2 separate regions of the Homo sapiens genome follow, and region 2 is linked to region 1. The links are contacts of gene promoters, found by promoter capture Hi-C in human tissues and cell types (Jung and others, 2019). All regions are on one chromosome and are shown on one strand. Each heading gives the region's core, a stretch centred on a gene start or on the middle of the fragment in contact. The rest is flanking DNA. Distances are from core to core; before and after follow the strand shown.

Region 1 (6,550 bases), core at 1-2,500:
TTTATAAAACCGAAAGCCATAAAAAGCATCTAGCACTTAGAGGATTTAATAAGAATGCATGCGAAAGTGCAGGGCGCTGTGCTTGATGTACAGTAGGTTAGAGACAGGTCCTCCTCCCCCACATCTTATTCCATAAATAGCTCCTATGCCCAACAGAAACCAGGTGCACAGATCTTTCCACTTTGGGCCTAGGAGGCAGAGGGCTGTAAACAGCCAGAGGTCCAGTTTTCAGACCCGAGGTCATTTTCTGACACTGCTCAACAGCAATCTTAGAGTACCGGGGGATATGGGAGACAAGAGCTCGGCCCCACTCTGCAAGGGAGAGAGGCTGCCAGGAGCCAGGATGACTCCATAGGCTGCCTTGGGGAAGAAGCAGGTAAGCAAACCTAGCCCCTGGAGCCTGCCTCCGGGGAGGTGATGACAGCAGAAACCTTGGACACTCCCTCCCCACACCACCTCCCAGCTCCCCTAGGCTGGCGCGGCCCTCCACTTCCTGTAGCCAACCTCCCTCTCAGCCTCCCTGCCCCCACCGGGAGGTGCTGCAGTGCGGGGTGGAGGGGGGTTGGAGGGAGTGGGAAGAGGGAGTGTAGGAAGGGCACAGGGTCGCAGGCTCCCGGCCCAGAAACGTCTTCCCTCTAAGTCATGCCTCGGAGGAATACTCGGCACGCCCCCGCCCCCGCCCCCACCCCCGGCTTCCCGTAGACTCTAACTCCATCCTAGCCATCAGGCTCTGCAGAATGTAATCCGCATTCCCCAGCGTCCTTCATCTCTCCAACCCCAGGGTCCCCTGCAGCCCTCCATCCCCACCTACTCAGTTTTTCCACATCTTCGAGCTTGTCTATCGCCCAAGCCCGCAGCGTCCTCTCCAGGACTCCTTGCCCAACCGCGGCCGCCCCCACGTGCGCACCCCCGGACTCCCGCTCCGCAAGCCTCTCAGCCATCTCCTTCTCGTGGATCCCCAAGCCCACCTTTGCCAGGGCTCAAATGGCCCCATTTTCCTATCCTCACGGGTCCTTCCGACGCCCGCTCCCCACACATTACCTTAACCCTCTGGAGGCGAGAGAGATGTAACTCATGCACGAAGGGGTTGGGGGATGCTGGGGGTCCGGGGGTGGGATCTAGGGGGGCCCAGTCCCCCGGACTTCCCTGGCTCATGGCGGGAGAAGGTGGGAGGGAGGGCACCCCGGCCCTGGCCCCGGCCACCACTCTGCAGAGCAGCTGCTGCTGCAGCAGCGGCGGCGGCGGCGCTCTGGCCCGGGCCCCGCCCGGTGCAGGCGGCCGAGGGGCGGGGAGCAGGCGGCGCAGCCCAGCCCGCCCGCGTTGTCAGGGCGCCGGCCGAGGGGCGGGGCTTCCAGCGCCCTGGCGCCCCTGCTCCTCCGCGCCCGCCGCGGCGCCCGCAGCCGCTCGGGCCATTGTTCCGCGGCTGCCAGGGCTGGAGCGGGCTGCCCCTGGGCTTCTGCGCCTCCGTCGTTCCTCTCTGAAGACCTGGCCTCCGCCTCGGAGTGGGAGTGGGTCTGGGAGCTGAGCGCAGAGCTCAGAGCGCCCTCTGTCCCCGCCCGGGCGTCGAGGTCACCCAGCAAGCGCAGATCGGGGTGAGGCTCTTGGGTTGGTAGGCAGGGAGGGACAGGTGGGCCGGATGCAGAGGCCGGCAGCTCGCGGGTGAGGCGGCGCCCCGCTCTTCCTATGGGCTCCTTGGCCCGGTCCGCGCCTCCTCGCAGGCGGACCACCTTTCCTTCCCGGTCCGTGGGGCGCCATCGCGCGGGGACTTGAGGCACTTGCGTCCTCTGGCGGCTGCATGGCGCCCCGCAACTCTCCACCTCCGCGTCCTGCCTGTGCTAGGCAGGGCCGCCTTTACTGGTGTGAGGGTTGCTTGAACCCTTGAGGCGCCAGGAATCCCTAGTACACTGACGCATGTGCTTCCCATGAGCCCGACAAGGTCTGGCAGGGGAGAGGCAGTGGTTCCTGATCTCTGTCACTCTCTGGGTGAACGCAGAGGACACAGTAGTAATTCCCCTCACCCACAAGCTCCAAGCTACCCTAGAAAACAAATTGTTTAGCCTCAGGCCATCGTTTGAGATCAGGGACCAGGGAATTAAGTGGACTCTGAGATCCATTGCCATGACAAAAGGGGTAAGAGTCTCATTGCTTGAGGAAAGAATACGCCTTAAGTTCACTTTATGTCTTCTGCCCATTGCATGGCAGTTAGGGGAGCTGAAGGAAGAAAGTGAAAGAAAAAGAGACCTCTCATAACCAAGAGTGTTTGCCGCCACTGGCTTCTCCTTTAAACCAAACTCCAAATTAATCTGCTCCAGGAAATTTTCTGAGCCCAGGCTGAGAGGGTTGAAGGCTCATGCATCCTACTGAGACCAAGGAGCTGCACTGGGATGTTTTTGTATATAACACAGAGGTCCCAACACAAATACATCATTTCCACATTTTATTTTTGTATAGATAGGGTCTCGCTATATTGCCCAGGCTGGTCTCGAACTCCTAGCCTCAAGTGAGCCTCCCACCTCGGCCTTCCAAACTGTTGGGACTACAGGTAGTGAGCCGCCATGTACAACCCAAACCTTTTTTTTTTAAGCAGATGATTTCAGCTTTCTCACCAGAACCGAGAAAGTACAACTGCATGTATTAGTCTCCCTTGCCTTGCCTTTGGGGAGAAGTTTGTGTGTGTGTGTGTGTGTGTGTGTGTGTGTGTGTGTGTGTGTGTGTTTGTCTTTTGTTGTTGTTGTTTTGGGACGGAGTCGCGCTCTTGCTCTGTTGCCCAGGCTGGAGTGCAATGGCGTGATCTCAGCTCGCTGCAACCTCCGTCTCCCGGCTCCAAGCAATTCTCCTGCCTCAGCCTCCTGAGTAGCTAGGATTATAGGCGGGCACCACCACACCCGGCTAATTTTTGTATTTTTAGTAGAGACGGGGTTTCATCATATTGGTTAGGCTGGTCTCGAACTCCTCACCTCATGATCCACTCGCCTCAGCCTCCCAAAGTGCTGGGATTACAGGCGTGAGCCACCGCACCTGGCGGTTTTTTTTTTTTCTTTTTGAGATGGAGTTTCACTTTTGTTGCACAGGCTGGAGTGCAATGGCACAATCTCGGTTCACTGTATCCTCCGCCTCCCGGGTCAAGCGATTCTCCTGCCTCAGCCACCTGAGCAGCTGGGATTACAGGTGCCTGCCACCATGCCTGGCTAATTTTTTTTTTTTTTTTTTTTGTATTTTTAGTAGAGATGGGGTTTCACCATGTTGGCCAGGCTGGTTTCGAACTCATGACCTCAGGTGATCCACTTGCCTCTGCCAAAGTGCTGGGATTACAGGCGTGAGCCACCACGCCCAGCCTAGAAGGAGGTTTAAGGACTAAGATAATGTTCATAAGGTGGGAGACAGGGAAAGATGAGAGTGTAGGGAAGTTTAAATTTTTCCCTTGAATGTTTGATAATTTGAGTCTATAAAACAAACTGATTACATAGATTAAAGGGAAAAGAGGCCTACGCATTTTTTTTTTTTTTTTTTTTTTTGAGACGGAGTCTCGCTCTGTCGCTCAGGCTGGAGTGCAGTGGCACGATCTCAGCTCACTGCAACCTCCACTTCCCGGGTCACGCGATTCTCCTGCCTCAGCCTCCTGAGTAGCTGGGACTGCAGGTGCACGTCGCCATGCCTGGCTAATTTTTTTTTTTTTTTTTTGGTATTTCTAGTAGAGACAGAGTTTCGCCATGTTAGGCAGGCTGGTCTTGAACTCCTGACCTCAGGTGATCCGCCCGCCTCGGCCTCCCAAAGTGCTGGGATTACAGGTGTGAGCCACTGGGTCCGGTCTCCTACAAATTTTATTTGATGCACGCATGTGTGTGGGAGTCATACAAAATATAAAAACTCAAAGAAATGCCCAATGGTTGCTTTTATACCACCTTGAGGTTACAGAAAGAATGAGAGCTTGCATCTGGGCAAAACAGGTTATGGTGGCAAGACAGGTTATGGGAGGGGGAGAAGAAGAGGCCTGGCCAGCAAAGACGGTCTTGGTGAACAAATGAAATCTCACAGACAGTAGCCTTTAGAAGGAATAGGTGGTAAAGGTTTCTGTTAGACCTTTTAAGATGTCAGACTCTCAGTTAATCTTTCCTAAATCTGGACAAGGGAGAGCACCAGAGAAAGCCTTTCTGCATCGATGCAGATTCTCTGCAGATGCAGATCTCCCCCACAAAAGACAGCTTTGCAGGCTTTCTGAACAGTCATCTCAAAATACATCAAATTCAGAATGAAAATTTTTGGTGCTCTTCAAGAGCAATAAATACTATGAAAACCCAACTACAGGGGTAGAGTTTTGATAATCAAATATTTGCCGGTGTCAGTCATCCAGGATGAACTAAGAAGTTCATTTCTATGAATGAGTCATGAAAGCATCCACATTTCCCCTTTTTCTAGCCCCTCACCAAACTATTATGATGGCCTTTCTGCAGGCAGTCTGAGAAGGGGCAACCCAGTTGTAAAGAATAACGTTGAGAAATTGATCATCTCTGGTAGCATCTGTCACTCCCTTGAAAATATCCACCAGGCTAGACAGGTTTCTCCTCCACCTGACCCCTGTATCTGTATCAGTCACCATTACCTGGGAGTACTGGAGACAATGACATATCAATGGAATTCTGGATTATTGGATACCATTAATCTTCTGTTGGAAGGGGGAACCAGACAGAAGCCAGAAGTTACTTCTGTCTAGACTCCCTCCCAACCTCCCATGTTTTATAGCCTCAAAGAAGGCAGTCAGCATTCTCAGCATTCTTTTCTTCTTTTTCTTCTTCTCTTCCTCCTTCACCTCCTCCTCCCCTTCTTCCTCCTCCTTTCCCTTCTCCTCCTCCCCTTCCCCCTCCCTCTTCTTCCTTCTTCCTTCTTTCTTCTCCTCCTCCTCTTCATCCCCTCCCTCCTCCTTTCCCCCTCCTCCTTTTCCTCCTCTTCTCCTCATCCTCCCTCTCCTCCCCTCCTCTCCTTCCTCACTTCCCTTCTCCTCCTCCCCCTCCCCCTCCCTCCTCTTCTTCCTTCTTCCGTCTTTTCTTCTTCTCCTCCTCCTCCTCTCCGTCCCCTCTCTCCTTTCTCTCCTCCTCCTTTTCCTCCTCTTCTCCTCCTCATCCTCCCTCTCCTCCCCTCCTCCTCTTCCTCCTCCTCATCCTCCCTCTCCTCCCCTCCTCCCCTCCTCCTCTTCCTCTTCTCCCCTTCCCTTCCTCCTCCTTCTCTTCCCCCACTTCCTACCTCTCCTACTCCTCTTCCCCCATCTCCTCTTCCTTCTCCTTCTCCCCCTCTCCTCCCCCTCCCATCTCCTTCTCCTCCCCCCACCTCCTTCTCCTCCTCCTTCTTCTTTTAAATAGAGGCAGGGTCTTGCTTTGTTCGTCTTAAACTCCTGGGCTCAAGCAATCATTCTGCCTCAGCCTCCCAAAGTGCTGGGATTACAGGTGTGAGCCACTACTGGTGGCCCGTCCTTTTTAAATTTTTAATTTTATTAATCTTATTTTCATTTCTTTTTAATAGAGATAGGGTCTCACTATGTTGACCAGACTGGTCTGGAACTCCTGGTCTCAAGCAGTCCTTCTGCCTCAGCCTCCCAAAGTGCTAGGATTACAGGTGTGAGCCACCACACTAGGACAAGATTTATTTCTGTTATGAACTGAATGTTTGTGTCTCTCTTCCCCCAGTTCATATGTTGAAGCCCTAGACCCCAATGTGATGGCTATTTGAAGGTGGAGTCTTTGGGAGATAATTGGGTCTAGATTAGATCATGAGGGTAGGACCCTTATGATGGGATTAGTGCCCTTAAAAGAAGAGAGAGAGGGAGAGGGAGAGAGGGAGAGAGGGAGGGAGGGAGAGAGAGAGAGAGAGAGAGAAAGAAAGAAAGAAAGAGATCTTTCTTTCCATGAGTACATATGGAGGAAACGACATGTGAGCACACAGTGAGAAGACAGCTGTCTACATATCAGAAAGTTGGCTCTCACCAGACAACGAATCTGCAGGCATCTTGATCTTGGACTTCCCAGCCCCTAGAACTGTGATAAATAAATTTCTGTTGTTTAAGCCACCCAGTTGATGGCATCTTATTACAGCAGCCTGAGAAGATTAAGACAATTTCTTAAAGGTTCTTAGAGACGATTCCATAGCTTTCTTTTATCTCTTATTTAAAGGAGGGCAGGTTTCTGTACATCTTGTGTTTTCCAAGATAGTTCCAATAATTTTATAATTTCATTTTTTTTCAATTAAGGCAATTCATACATGCATAGTTACACATAATTTTACTTTTATGACTTTAATATTGTATTTTTTTAATGTGCACTTTTATTGAACTGGTCTCAAGTCAGTGTACAGGTAACCCCTTGCTACTTTCACACCTCCATCCAATCCCAGGGAGACCAAAAGCCTTCATACACCTCAAGTTTAGGGACAAAAAGTGTGGCCACAATGGCTCATTCAAAATAAAACAAAATAGGCCAGACGCAGTGGCTCATGCCTGTAATCCCAGCACTTTGGGAGGCCAAGGCAGGCTGATCACTTGAGCTCAGGAATTTGAGACCAG
Region 2 (6,296 bases), core at 2,108-4,607, 200 kb before region 1:
GGCAGGTCCCACGCCCACGGAGCCTTGCTTACTGCCAGCGCAGCAGTCTGAGATAGACCTGCGAAGCAGCAGCCTGGCAGGGGGAGGGGCGTCCGCCACTGCTGAGGCTTGAGTAGGTAAACAAAGTGGCTGGGGGAAGCTCGAACTGGGCAGAGCCCACTGCAGCTCTGCAAGGCTTGCTGCCTCTAACACTCCACCTCTGGGGTCAGGGCATAGCTGAACAAAAGGCAGCAGAAACTTCTGCAGACTTAAACTTCCCAGTCTGATAGCTCTGAAGAGAGCAGTGGTTCTCCCAACACGACGTTTGAGCTCTGAGAATGGACAGACTGCCTCCTCAAGTGGGTCCTTGACCCCTGTGTAGCCTAACTGGGAGACACCTCCTAGTAGAGGCCGACTGACACCTCATACAGGTGGGTTCCCCTCTGGAATGAAGCTTCCAGAGGAAGGATCAGGCAGCAATATTTGCTGTTCTGCAGCCTCTGCTGGTGATACCCAGGCAAACAGGGTGTGGAGTGGACCTCCAGTAAACTCCAACAGACCTGCAGCTGAGGGGCCTGTCTATTAGAAGGAAAACTAACAAACAGAAAGGAATAGCATCAACATCAACAAAAAGGACATCCACACCAAAACCCCATCCGTAAGTCACCAACATCAAACACCAAAGGTAGATAAAACCACAAAGATGGGGAGAAACCAGAGCAGAAAGGCTGAAAATTCAAAAAATCAGAACACCTCTTCTCCACCAAAGGAACACAACTCCTCACCAGCAAGAGAACAAAACTGGATGGAGAATGAGTTTGACAGGTTGACAGAATTAGGCTTCAGAAGGTCGGTAATAACAAACTTCTCCAAGCTAAAGGAGCATGTTCTCACTTGTTGCAAGGAAGCCAAAAACCTTGAAAAAAGGTTAGACAAATGGTTAACTAGAATAACCAGTGTAGAGAAGAACTTAAATGACATCATGGAGCTGAAAATCACAGTACGAGAACTTCATAAAGCATACACAAGCTTTAATAGCTGATTTGATCAAGTGGAAGAAAGGATATAAGTGAATGAAGATCAAATTAATGAAATACAGCAAGAAGACAAGATTAGAGAAAAAAGAGTGAAAAGAAACGAACAAAGCCTCCAAGAAACATGGGACTATGTGAAAAGACCAAATCTATGTTTGATTGTGTACCTGAAAGTGACGGGGAGAATGCAACCAGTCAGAAAACACTCTTCAGGGTATTATTCAGTAGAACTTCCCCAACCTAGCAAGGCAGGCCAACGTTCAAATTCAGGAAATACAGAGAACACCACAAAGATACTCCTCAAGAAGAGCAACCCCAAGACACTTAATTGTCAGACTCACTAAGGTTGAAATGAAGGGAAAAATGTTAAGGGCAGCCAGAGAGAAAGGTCAGGTTACCCACAAAGGGAAGACTAACAGCGCATTTCTCGGCAGAAACCCTACAAGCCAGAAGAGAGTGGGGGCCAATATTCAACATTCTGAAAGAAAAGAATTTTCAACCCAGAATTTCATATCCAGCCAAACTAAGCTTCATAAGTGAAGGAGAAATAAAATCCTTTACAGACAAGCAAATACCAAGAGATTTTGTCACCACCAAGCCTGCCTTACAAGAGCTCCTGAAGGAAGCACTAAACATGGTTACGAACAACCAGTACCAGCCACTGCAAAAATATGCCAAATTGTAAAGACCATCGATGCTATGAAGAAACTGCATCAATTAACAGGTGAAATAACTAGCTAGCATCATAATGACAGGATCAAATTCATACATAACAGCATTAACCTTAAATGTAAATGGGCTAAATGCCCCAATTAAAAGATACAGACTGGCAAATTGGATAAAGAGTCAAGACCTATCGGTGTGCTGTATTCAGGAGACCCATCTCACGTGCAAAGATACACACAGGTTCAAAATAAAGGGATGGAGGAAGATCTTCCAAGTAAATGGAAAGCAAAAAAAAAGCAGGGTTTGCAGTCCTGGTCTCTTATAAACAGACTTTAAGCCAACAAAGATCAAAAGAGACAAAGAAGACCATTATATAATGGTAAAGGAATCAATTCAACAAGAAGAGCTAACTATCTTAAATATATATGCACCCAATACAGGACCACCCAGATTCATAAAGCAAGTCCTTGGAGACCTACAAAGAGACTTAGACTCCCACACAATAACAATGGGAAACTTCAACACTCCACTGTCAATATTAGACAGATCAGTGAGACAGAAGGTTAACAAGGATGCCCAGGATTTGAACTCAGCTCTGCACCAAGCTGACCTAACAGACATCTACAGAACTCTTCACCCCAAATCAACAGAATATACATTCTTCTCAGCACCACATCGCACTTATTCCAAAATTGACCACATAGTTGGAAGTAAAGCACTCCTCAGGAAATGTAAAAGAACAGAAATCACAGCAAACTGCCTCTCAGACCACAGTGCAATCAAATTAGACCTCAGGATTAAGAAACTCACTCAAAACCATACAACTACTTGGAAACTGAACAACCTGCTCCTGAATGACTACTGGGTAAATAATGAAAGAAGGCAGAAATAAAGATGTTTTTTGAAACCAATGAGAACAAAGACACAACGAACCAGAATCTCTGGGACACATTTAAAGCAGTGTGTAGCCGGAAATTTATGGCATTAAATGCCCCCAAGAGAAAGCAGGAAAGATCTACAATCGACATGCTAAAATCACAATCAAAAGAACTAGAGAAGCAAGAGCAAACAAATTCAAAAGGTAGCAGAAGGCAAGAAATAACTAAGATCAGAGCAGAACTGAAGGAGATAGAGACACAAAAACCCTTCAAAAAAAATCAATGAATCCAGGAGCTGGTTTTTTGAAAAGATCAGCAAAATTGATAGACTGCTAGCAAGACTAATAAAGAAGAAAACAGAGAAGAATCAAATAGATGCAATAAAAATTGATAAAGGGGATATCACCACTGATGCCCCAGAAATACAAACTGCCATCAGAGAATACTATAAACACCTCTATGTAAATAAACTAGAAAATCTAGAAGAAATGGATAAATTCCTGGATACGTACACCCTCCCAAGACTAAACCAGGAAGAAGTTCAATTGCTGAATAGACCAATAACAGGCTCTGAAATTGAGGCAATAATTAATAGCCTACCAACCAAAAAAAGTCCAGGACCAAACAGATTCACAGCCGAATTCTACCAGAAGCACAAAGAGGAGCTGGTACCATTCCTTCTGAAACTATTCCATCAATAGAAAAAGAGGGAATCCTCCCTAACTCATTTTATGAGGCCAGCATCATCCTGATACCAAAGCCTGGCAGAGACACAACAAAAAAAGAGAATTTTAGACCAATATCCCTGATGAACACTGATGCGAAAATCTTCAATAAAATACTGGCAAACCGAATCCAGCAGCACATCAAAACCTTATCCACCACGATCAAGTCGGCTTCATCCCTGGGATGCAAGGCTGGTTCAACAGATGCAAATCAGTAAACGTAATCCATCGCATAAACAGAACCAACAACAAAAACCACATGATTATCTCAATAGATGCAGAAAAGGCCTTTGACAACATTCAACAGCCCTTCATGCTAAAAACTCTCAATAAACTAGGTACTGAAGAATCATATCTCAAAATAATAAGAGCTATTTATGACAATCCCACAGCCAATCTCATACTGAATGGGCAAAAACTGGAAGCATTCCCTTTGAAAACTGGCACAAGACACGGATGCCCTCTCTCACCACTCCTATTCAACACAGTGTTGGAAGTTCTGGCCAGGGCAATCAGGCAAGAGAAAGAAATAAAGGGTATTCAATTAGGAAAAGAGGAAGTCAAATTGTCCCTGTTTGCAGATGACATGATTGTATATTTAGAAAACCCCATCATCTCAGCCCAAAATCTCCTTAAGCTGATAGGCAACTTCAGCAAAGTCTCAGGACACAAAATCAATGTGCAAAAATCAAAAGCATTCCTATATACCAATAACAGACAAACAGAGCCAAATCATGAGTGAACTCCCATTCACAATTGCTACAAAGAGAATAAAATACCTAGGAATCCAACTTACAAGGGATGTGAAGGACCTCTTCAAGGAGAACTACAAACCACTGCTCAATGAAATGAAAGAGGACACAAACAAATGGAAGAACATTCCATGCTCATGGATAGGAAGAATCAATATCGTGAAAATGGCCATACTGCCCAAGGTAATTTATAGATTCAACGTCATCCCCATCAAGCTACCAATGACTTTCTTGGAAGAATTGGAAAAAACTACTTTAAAGTTCATATGGAACCAAAAAAGAGCCTGCATTGCCAAGACAATCCTAAGCAAAAAGAACAAAGCTGGAGGCATCATGCTACCTGACTTCAAACTATACTACAAGGCTACAGTAACGAAAACAGCATGGTACTGGTACCAAAACAGATATATAGACCAATGGAACAGAACAGAGACCTCAGAAATAACACCACACATCTACAACCATCTGATCTTTGACAAACCTGACAACAAGCAATGGGGAAAGGATTCCCTATTTCATAAACGGTGCTGGGAAAACTGGCTAGCCATATGTAGAAAGCTGAAACTGGATCCCTTCCTTACACCTTATACAACAATTAATTCAAGATGGATTAAAGACTTAAATCTTAGATGCCAAATCATAAAAACCCTAGAAGAAAACCTAGACAATACCATTCAGGACACAGACATCGGCAAGGACTTCATGACTAAAACACCAAAAGCAATGGCAACAAAAGCCAAAATAGACAAATGGGATCTAATTAAACTAAAGAGCTTCTGCACAGCAAAAGAAACTACCATCAGAGTGAACAGGCAGCCTATAGAACGGGAGAAAATTTTTGCAATCTACCCATCTGACAAAGGGCTAATATCCAAAATCTACAAAGAACTTAAACAAATTGTCAAGAAAAAAACAAACAACCCAATCAAAACGTGGGCAAAGGATATGAACAGACACATCTCAAAAGAAGACATTTATGCAGCCAACAGACATATGAAAAAATGCTCATCATCACTGGTCATCAGAGAAATGCAAATCAAAACCACAATGAGATACCGTCTCATGCCAGTTAGAATGGTGATCATTAAAAAGTCAGGCAACAACAGATGCTGGAGAGGATGTGGAGAAACAAGAACACTTTTACACTGTTGGTGGGAATGTAAATTGGTTCAACCATTGTGGAAGACAGTGTGGTGATTCCTCAAGGATCTAGAACTAGAAATACCATTTGGCCCAGTGATCCCATTACTGGGTATATACCCAAAGGATTATAAATCATGCTACTATAAAGACACATGAACATGTATGTTTATTGCAGCACTATTCACAGTAGCAAAGACTTGGAACCAACGCAAATGTCCATCAATGATAAACTGGATTAAGAAAATGTGGCACATATATATCATGGAATACTACGCAGCCATAAAAAAGGATGAGTTCACGTCCTTAACAGGGATATGAATGAAGCTGGAAACGATCATTTTCAGCAAACTATCACAAGGGCAGAAAACCAAACACCATATGTTCTCACTCACAGGTGGGAACTGAACAATGAGAACACTTGGACACAGGGCGGGGAACATCACACACCAGGGCCTGTCATGGGGTGGGGGGTGGGGGAGGGACAGCATTAGAAATACCTAATGTAAATGACAAGCTGACAGGTGCAGCAAACCAACATGGCACATGTATACCTATGTAACAAACCTGCATGTTGTGCACATGTACCCTGGCACTTAAAGAATAAAAAATAAATAAAGAAATAAAAGAAGTGGAGATAAAGGTAACCCTAAGAACAAGTAGATAGATTGAATATCCATTTAAGACACAGTTGGCTCACTAGATCCTCTTTCTCATTCCAGTAAAAAAACGAGTTTTATTCTCTAGAAAACGTAAAACAGAGTCCTTGGGAGGAACATATTCTTTTTTTTTTTTTTTTTTGAGATGGAGTCTCACTCTATTGCCCAGGCTGAAGTCCAGTGGCACGATCTCGGCTCACTGCAACCTCTGCCTCCCAGGCTCAAGTGATTCTCCTGCCTCAGCCTCCTGAGTACCTGGGATTACGGGCTCCCGTCACCATGCCTGGCTAATTTCTGTATTTTTAGTAGAGATGGGGTTTCACCATATTGGCCAGGCTGGTCTCAAACTCCTGACTTCAAGTGATCCACCCACCTTGGCCTATCCAAGTGTTGGGATTACAGGTGTAAGCCACTGCACCCAGCCTAGGAACATATTCTAAAAAGGGGGATGATCAAGTGAAAG

The links. The method cuts DNA at HindIII sites, captures the fragments that hold promoters and counts their contacts. A contact is called where the count stands out against the background at its distance.
Region 2: a contact is called between a fragment that was not itself captured here and the fragment with the promoter of LPCAT4 in region 1, in 1 of the 25 tissues and cell types used here (dorsolateral prefrontal cortex).

The regions. Positions count from the first base shown.
Region 1 is chr15:34,365,946-34,372,495 of GRCh38, forward strand. LPCAT4 (lysophosphatidylcholine acyltransferase 4) reads right to left here and starts at 1,251. Exons shown (of 14, transcript NM_153613.3): 1 at 1,042-1,251. The coding sequence starts at 1,155. RefSeq lists silencers at 656-745, 826-875, 996-1,455, 1,586-1,635 and enhancers at 1,411-2,406, 2,006-2,295, 3,751-3,810. The HindIII fragment of the contact is 28,025 bases long and covers 1-6,550 here.
Region 2 is chr15:34,166,300-34,172,595 of GRCh38, forward strand. The region is part of intron 1 of KATNBL1 (katanin regulatory subunit B1 like 1); the gene reads right to left. Among named protein-coding and RNA genes, the nearest start is that of KATNBL1, 41 kb to the right of the region's middle. The HindIII fragment of the contact is 5,274 bases long and covers 721-5,994 here.